Linked DNA regions of Homo sapiens: region 1 is linked to region 2. The links are contacts of gene promoters, found by promoter capture Hi-C in blood cells and fetal thymus (Javierre and others, 2016). All regions are on one chromosome and are shown on one strand. Each heading gives the region's core, a stretch centred on a gene start or on the middle of the fragment in contact. The rest is flanking DNA. Distances are from core to core; before and after follow the strand shown.

What was found. Contacts are between HindIII fragments. The CHiCAGO score rates a contact against its expected background, and 5 or more counts as called.
Region 1: a fragment that was not itself captured here is called in contact with the fragment with the promoter of ALKBH2 in region 2 in 1 of 17 cell types (total CD8 T cells); the score reaches 5.1 in total CD8 T cells.

The regions. Positions count from the first base shown.
Region 1 is chr12:107,754,512-107,758,817 of GRCh38, forward strand. PRDM4 (PR/SET domain 4) reads right to left here. Exons shown (of 12, transcript NM_012406.4): 3 at 2,321-2,454. It overlaps PRDM4-AS1 (PRDM4 antisense RNA 1), which reads left to right. Exons shown (of 5, transcript NR_120474.1): 4 at 3,764-3,881. Among named protein-coding and RNA genes, the nearest start is that of PRDM4, 4.5 kb to the right of the region's middle. The HindIII fragment of the contact is 238 bases long and covers 2,789-3,026 here.
Region 2 is chr12:109,090,750-109,094,954 of GRCh38, forward strand. It overlaps ALKBH2 (alkB homolog 2, alpha-ketoglutarate dependent dioxygenase), which reads right to left and starts at 2,723. Exons shown (of 4, transcript NM_001145374.2): 1 at 2,498-2,723; 2 at 1,758-2,188. The coding sequence starts at 2,037. The HindIII fragment of the contact is 3,285 bases long and covers 1,383-4,205 here.

The DNA.
Region 1 (4,306 bases), core at 1,658-4,157, 1.3 Mb before region 2:
AGCTGGGATTACAGGCACACACCACCACACCCAGCTAATTTTTGTATTTTTGCTAGAGACAGGGTTTCACCATGTTGGCCAGGCTGGTCTCGAACTCCTGGCCTCAAGTGATCTGCCCACCTCAGCCTCCCAAAGTGCGGGGATTGCCACCATGCCCAGCCAAAATATTTAATTTAGAATTAAAAACCGAGTTTAAATACAAGAAAACAAATTATATAGAGAAAAAAACAATGGAAACATAAAATGTTCATAGGAGTAGTCCCTAGGTAGTGATAGTATGAAATTTTTTTGGTATTTTTAAACTTTATTGTATTTACCATTTTATATGGTGAGAATATTTCATTTCTACCTGGAAAACAACGTAGTTTAGTTAGATGTAAAACTGTACATGTACACCTTCATACAATCTTTTGTATATATGCTACACTTAGTGATTAATAAAAGCTTTAAACGTGAGATTATATCTACTTTGAGTTATATGTACTTGCAAAGTGAAGTGACTTTTACTGGGCTAAGTATCATAATAAATACCCACCAACTTGGTCAGTGCTGATTTGCATATTTTTGCCAGGGGCAATATTTTTTTTTTTTGAGACAAGGTTTTGCTATGTTGCCCAGGTTGGAGCGTAGTAGCATGACCATGGCTCAGGCAACCTGAGCTTTCCTGGCTCAAGTGGCCATCCCTTCTCAGCCTCCTATGTAGCTCCTACGTAGCTGGGACTACGGGTGTGTGCCACCATGCGCTGCTAATTTTTTTTTTTTTCTTTGTAGAGATGGGGTCTCCTTATGTTACCTAGGCTGATCTTGAACTCCTGGGCTCAAGTGATCCTCCTGCCTTGGCCTCTCAAAATGCTGGGATTATAGGCGTGAGCCACTGTGCCTGGCTGGCAATATTTTTTAACAGGCTTTTCCACCTTAACAAGAGTGTCCACTAAAGGGAATGCCTACAAACAATCAAGTGGGTTAACCACTAATAATTTTTTAAGATTTCTTTTGTGGACACTTAAACAAATGTGAAGAGACCCTAGTTTCAATGAATCTTATTTAACTGCTGCATTTTATTAATTAAGCAAGTAATTCTCTTTAGAGAACTATTTAAACAATATATAGATTTATTTATACTAACTCCTACTGTGACAAAGAAAGTCCAATACATAACAATGTCATTGATCCTAAAGAACTGACAGCTTATCATTGTAATAATCAATAGAATATTTATTCCATTTATATTCTATTTCAATAGAATAAGAAAATGAAGCTAGGCAGAAAAAAGGTTTTAAAAGTACAGTGACGGCTGGCGCGGTGGCTCACACCTAAAATCCCAGCACTCTGGGAGGCCGAGGAGGGCGGATCACCTGAGGGCAGGAGTTCGAGACCAGCCTGGCTAATATGGTGAAACCCCGTTTCTACTAAAAATACAAAAAATTAGTTGAGCATGGTGGCGTGTGCCTGTAGTCTCAGCTACTCGGGATGCTGAGGCAGGAGAATTGCTTGAACCCGGGAGGCGGGCGGAGGTTGCAGTGAGCCGAGATCGTGCCATTGCACTCCACCTTGGTCGACAAGAGCGAAACTCCATCTCAAAAAAGAAAAAAAAGAAAATGAGCCAGGTGTAGGGGTGCATGCCTATAATCCTAGCTACTCAGGAGGCTGAAGCAGGAGAATCACTTGAACCCGGGAGGCGGAGGTTGCAGTGAGCCGAGATCGTGCCCCTGCACTCCAGCCTGGATGACAGAGTGAGACTCCATTTCAAAAAAAAAAGGATAGGAAGAATGAATTTTTCCTATACGATTTTGCTGTGTATGGAGGCTCATGAGGCGTTCCATGTAAAAGCCCCAGGTAAAAGTACCACACTTCTTTCCACATTAATTCTAGACCTGGTACACTTGCAGTTATTGCCATTTAATTTCAAACCTGGTGGAATATAAAGCCCAATTCCCCATGCTCTCTGGGAATAGTTATTAGAGTAATTTTAACTGATTCTCTTCTATTAACCCAGGGAACGGGTACTGAAGTGTGAACCAGATGAATGGGCAGCCCTAAATAAAATGCCAAGTTAATTACAGCTCTGGACAAAAAGCTACCAACTCAGAAGAGGACTATCAGAAAAAATTGCTGCTACTATCCACTAGAATTCTAATACTCTACCTCTACAAAAACCTTATTTTCCATTACCTATCACATGTTGAACCACCATTCAGGCCTGCTTACCTTCTCCCTTCTACCTTCTACCCTTAAAGGGGCTCTGATCTCTTCTAGACTCCATTTAGAATTGATAACAGAGTTAAGTGTTGAAATGCAGTAGGTCTCCCTTACCACTCACCTGGGGCAGGGATGGCACTGTGAGTGGGTGAGGCAGCCAATCCCAGGTGACTTCCTGAGACTGGCAAGGCATTGCTCACAGAGGATGAAGTCAGCTGCTCCATCCCCACTGGACTCAGGTTCATTTCATTCATCCTAGAAAAGAGCACACACAACTAGTTATGCAAAAATTTACTCCAATGACTCTGTATTAAGATACTGAAGAAACTGAAACAGTGGGGATGGGGAAATGGGACTTGGCCAACTATTAGTTCACTTTTACGCTCAACAATTCTCTTAGATAGCTAGTGCCATATTCTTTCTACTGATAAGAAAACTGAGATTGAGACATTAAAAACTCAATTCAATGTCACATAGCAGAAATAGGATTTGAATTCTGCCTTGTTCGAAACTCTAGGCACACCATCTAAAGCAAAGTCTGCAATTCTTAGAGCACAATGGCAATGACAGTTTTTTTTTAAATCACTCAAGCTTCATCTTTTATAATATTTATTTTTCTCCAAATGGCTTATTATTTCAAACCAGTAGTGTTTTAGGCAGCGCATTTTAACCTACTCAAGTAAATTTTACTAATCATTTTTAATAGGAGTTAAAGATCCAGATTATCGATGATGTGAAAAGCATCGTATTTTCCCCATTCAGCAACAGTTTACTAAGATTCTGTATCAGTATATTAATGTCCTCCAAATATTGAGGGTCATTATGTAAGCTTTGCTACCACTTCACTTAAAATGACTTCAAATCCTCACACCAATACTGCAACGTAAGATAGATGAGGGAACTATGGCTCAGAGAGGCCATGTCATATGCCCCAAATCACATAGCTATTAAGTGAAAGATCACAGATCAAACTGCAAAACACTGCCAAAAAGTTTTTCATTGCACCAAACTTTTTTTTAACTGCACCAAACTTTTTTTTTAACTACAGACTATTTTTGGCAAGGTGAAGAACCTAGGAATCACCTTTTCTATGCAAACCATCTTGCACTGCCATTACAAATGTCTTTCGAATAAGAGTAATACTGATTTGAATAAAACAGCACTGAAGGTTGTTATCAAAAAGTATTAGTTCTTATATCATAATTTAGAGACTGCCATACTATAAACATTACAGAACCACTAGGCTAGCCAACAGGTTACCCAAAAGGGGCTCTCTAATGACCTCCAGTCCTTACACTGGGCTTTATTCTCTGCGTATGGGAGGGGGTGAAGCAGAGAAGAGGAATCAAATGAGGTTACATATTCCTTAGCAGTGAAATCAAATCTAAATAGGTTTTTAATTCTGAAAAATGGCAATGCCATTTTATCAATCAACCTGAAAATAATAATAGCTAAAATTTATGGCTCCCTTACCATGTGCTATGTATTGGGCTAAGTGATTTATATGTAACTATCTCTCTTAATCTTCTTTTTTTTTTTTTTTTTTTTTTTGTTTTTGAGACAGGGTCTTGCTCAGTAGCTGCAAGCTGGAGTGCAGTGGCGTGATCACAGCTGACTGCTGCCTCTACCTCCTAGGCTCATGAGATCTTCCCACCTCAGCCCCCAAGCAGCTGGGACCACAGGCAAGTGCCACCATGCCTGGCTAATTTGTTTTTATTTTGCAGAGATGGGGTCTCCCTATGTTGCCCAGGCTGGAGGTAGGTATTATTCTTAATCCCACTTTAAAGATGAGGAAACTTAAGATTCAATGATGCTAGGAAACTTAACCCAGAATCACATAACCAGTAAGGAGAGCTGGGATTTAAATTCAGAACTAATTTAAGAAACCAAAGCTCTTAACTATAGTAAGAAAAAGACAATTACAATAAAAGAACTATATTGCCTTTTACACAGTTGCAATACATTAGGGCCTATCTACTTATATTGTGGCGTATATTTAAAGTTCCACATAGACCTGTTTCTTGCATTATTAGGTTTCACCCTTATCCCTGGCCATGGATCCCATAAAACTAAGCTCTAAGACATCAATAAAATGTAAAAGGCCAAC
Region 2 (4,205 bases), core at 1,473-3,972:
AGACTGGTCTTGAACTCCTGGGCTCAAGTGGTCCGCCCACCTCAGTCTCCCAAAGTCTGGGATTATAGGTGTGCACCACTGCACCAAGCCAACTGCCCCAAATGTTCATGTAAGAACAGTGACTCTTGTTCTACAAGGAGAGAAACATGGTCCTGGGCCATTTTTTTAGTGAACACTGTAACTTAACTGCCTTAACTACAGTAAGGGCAGAATAAAGAGGCTGAAATTGGAACACGATAAAGTTAGTTTACAGGCTAGGATAGCTTGTCAACTGTAGGGACTAAGGGCATGTGACCCCATGAAAGATGGGGCTCACACTGCTGGGGTCTCTTGTGGGCATTTCTTTTTTTAAAGAGATGGTGAGCCAGGCGCGCTGGCTCATGCTTGCAATCCCAGCACTTTGGGAGGCCAAGGCGAGGATCACTCAAGGCCAGGAGTTCAATTAACAGCCTGGGTAACACAGTGAGACCTACAGATAATTTAAAAATTATCCAGGCTTGGTGGTGTACATCTGTGGTCCCAGTTACTTAGGATGCTGAGGTGGGAGAATCACTTGAGCCCAGGCGGACGAGGCTGCAGTGAGCCAAGATCGTGCCCCTGCCCTCCAGCCTAGGTGACAGAGCGAGACCCTGTCTCAAAGCATAAAAGAATAAAGTGACGAGGGGGTCTCACTATGTTGCCCAGGCTGGACTTGAACTCCTGGCCTCAAGTGATCCTCCTGCCTCAGCCTCCAGAGTAGCTGGGATTACAGGTGTGTACCACCGTGCCTGGCCTGTGGGCTTTCGTTTTTTGTTTTGTTTTGTTTTGAGACACAGTCTCACTCTGTTGCCCAGGCTGGAGTGCAGTGGTGCGATCTCGGCTCACTGCAACCTCTGCCTCCCGGTTTCAAGTGATTGTCCTGCCTCAGCCTCTCAAGTAGCTGGGACTACAGGCATGCACCACTACGCACAGCTCATTTTTTGTTGTTGTTGTTGTATTTTAGTAGAGATAGGGTTTCACCATATTGGCCAAGCTGGTCTCGAACTCCTGACCTCAAGTGATTCGCCCGTCTCGGGCTCCCAAAGTGCTGGGATTACAGGCGCGAGCCACCACGCCTAGCTTCCTGTGGGCTTTTCTATGCCTCTCTGCCAGATCCTTGTGTCCTCATTACAGGATAGAGGTGTGGTTCTCAACATGTGCTCCCCAGACCAGCAGCACCTGGACTCTCCTTAGAAACTAAACTAAACCACAGGGGTAGGGTCCAGCAATCCAAGTCCTGCCAACAGCAAGTCCACCAGGTGATGCTGAGAACCACTGGTGTGGAGAAATTACCTGGTTATTTGCCATCTCTCCTATGAGACCAGTGATTCTCAAACCCTGACTGCCCATGAGAATCACCTGGAAGCTTTTTAAACAAACAAGTGGTCAGCCTGCACTCGGAGCGATTCTGATTGAAGTGCTCTGCAGTAGAACCCAGCACGTTTTTTTACTTTGTTTTGTAAACTTTCCCAGAAGATACTCATCAGTAGCCAAGGAGAGATTCACTCGAGTCATCTGTCAGCTCCTAGTAGACAGGCAATCCAGTTTCTTTCAAGTTTATGTCCCAAGCACCTAAGGGGCTTAGCCCAGAGGTGCTCAGAGAATATTGGATGAATCCATTAGTGAACCCATCAGTAAATAATGGATCCTGAGTTCAGATTTCTCCAAACATACGATCATTAATTGCACCAAACAAGCCCTCAATGCACACACACACACACACACACCCCTCTGCTTACCTGTAAAATATTCTACTTCTTTCTCCAACTCTTGGAAAATCTCATCTGCCTCAGCTTTGCCAAACAGGACTGTGTAACTGCAGTCCAGGCCCTCAGCCCGAATGTGCCGCCAGCTAGGGCCTGCTGAGTGGCCTCCATTCCCTGGGGCCTCTCTCCTGGGCCTCTTCCTTGTGCTTTCTTTGTCTCCTCCCAACACAGCTGGCTCTTCTCCAGTTGGCTCTTGCTCCTCCTGCTTCCTCAAAAGGCCCCCTTGAGCCCCTTTCACCAGGAATCTGTCCATCCTGTCCCCACAGGAAAGAAGGGACGTCAGTGGCGAGGCCAAGACAGAAATTGCTCAAGTTCTATCCCCAGTGCAAAAATCTGTTTGTCCAAGGGGTCTCACAGCAACATTCCTAGTTTCACATTTTCATTTTAAAGTTTAAAACCATGTCCTAGAAAGGAAACAGAAGATGTTAAAGCCGGAAGGGACCCTAGGGACAATCTGATCCAGGGTCTCCCACGTCCACCTGTGCATCAGAATCAGCTGGCTAGCTTGCAAAAACCCAGAGGTCTGCACTCCACGCCTGAGCACCTGAATTTTTAAAGAACTACCTCCTGGGAATTCGCACGCCACAGCTAAACTTAGAAACTACAATCCAAACCCTCATTTTGCAGAAGGGGAAACTGTTGCCCACAGAGGCGAAGAGGTTTGCCCAAAGTCAACTGTCCACCCCTTTAAGGAGGAAGGACCCATAACTGACCTCGCTGCCCCCCACCAGTGTTAAAATAGATCAGTCTAGTGATGCTCAAGTGGATACGATTCAGAAGCGAGACGCAAAGAGGTTAAACACGGGTAAACCGCACGCAAAATTCTGATATCACTGCAACACGTCCGTGGGGTGGGGGTGGCAAGAGTGCTCTAGCATCGCAGCTCCGGCGCAGATCGGAATCCCGCAGTCACCCTGGTGGCCTCGTGGTGGGAAAGACGCGCCCCAGCGAATCGGTCGCGTCACTTCCGGAGCACGCTGGGAACTACGGCAGGCTAGGGCGCAAAGAGAGCAGCCGGGCGGCCCCCTGGTGCCACCTGCTGGCCTCCCGTGTGTGGCAAGCACTGCCGCTTTCCCGTTGATCACCTGTTGGGCCACTGTCGAGAATCACGGCTGGGGTGAGAACTGTGGCTTGGCGTCACTTCTCAGTGAGGGTTACTTTGGTGTCCGGAAAGGGCGTTGGGCCACCAGTATATTGTCACGAGTGGGAGCAGGAGTTCTGCAGTCGGATATCGTGGATTCTGTTTCTGTCTCCTCCGCCCTGGCTGTGTGGCCTCCCACAGGTCACTTAACCTCTCTGGGGTTAAGTTGCCTCATCTGTGAAGTGCGGACTACAGCACCTATGTCATGAGAGCGCCTGAGGAGATGACAGGATGCATGAGAAATGCTCTGTCCTCTAAATAAATGTTGGTTCCATTATTGCTCGTTTTTCTTTGTTTTCTTGTTTTTTGATGTTGTTCTTGTTTGTTTTGTTTTTTTGAGACAGGATCTCACTCTGTTGCCCAAGCTGGAATGCAATGGCATGATCATAGCTCACTGCAGCCTTGAACTCCTGGGTTAGAGCGATCCTCCCGTCTCAGCCTCTGGAGTAGCTGGGACTACAGGCACATCCCACCCCACCCTAAATAATTTTTTTATTATTTTTAGTAGAGATAGGGCCTTGCTATGTTGCCCAGGCTGGTCTCAAGCTCCTGGGCTCAAGTGATCCTCCCACCTGGGCCTCCCAAATTGTTGGGATTACAGGCGTGAGCCACCACGACCGGCTCCTAATTTTTATTTACTCTGTCTCCCCTCAATGGAACGAAAGCTCCATGAGATCAGAGGCTTTGTTTTGACAGATTTCAACAAATGTACAATATTGTATGATCACCACCACAATCAAGATCTAAGACAGTTCCGTCCCTCCATAAAACTGCTCCAGCCTCTTAATCAACTTCGCCCATCACCCAGCATCAGCAACCACTGATCTGTCTTCTCTCCCTATAGTTTTGCCTTTTCCAGAATTTCATATACAGGGAATTGCCGTGGTTTGAATATCTGTTCCTCCAAAATCCGCGTTGAAATTTAATCCTCAGTGTGGCAGTATTGAGAGGTGGGGCCTTGAAGAGGTGATTGGGACATGAGAGCTCTGTCATAATGTCCTCATAAATGAATTAATAGATTAATGGGCTCAGGGGTTAATGGGTTAATGGGTTACCGTGGGAGTGGGACTGGTGGCTTTATAAAAGGAAGAAGAGAGACCTGAGCTAGCACACTCAGGCCCCTCGCGATGTGATGCCCTACACGGCTTCAGGACTCAACAGAGTCCCCACCAGCAAGAGGGTTTTCACCAGATGCAGCCCCTCAACCTCGGACCTCTCAGCCTCTATGAGAAATGCCTTTGTGGGACTTCTTTCACTTAAGCATATTGCTTTTAAGATTC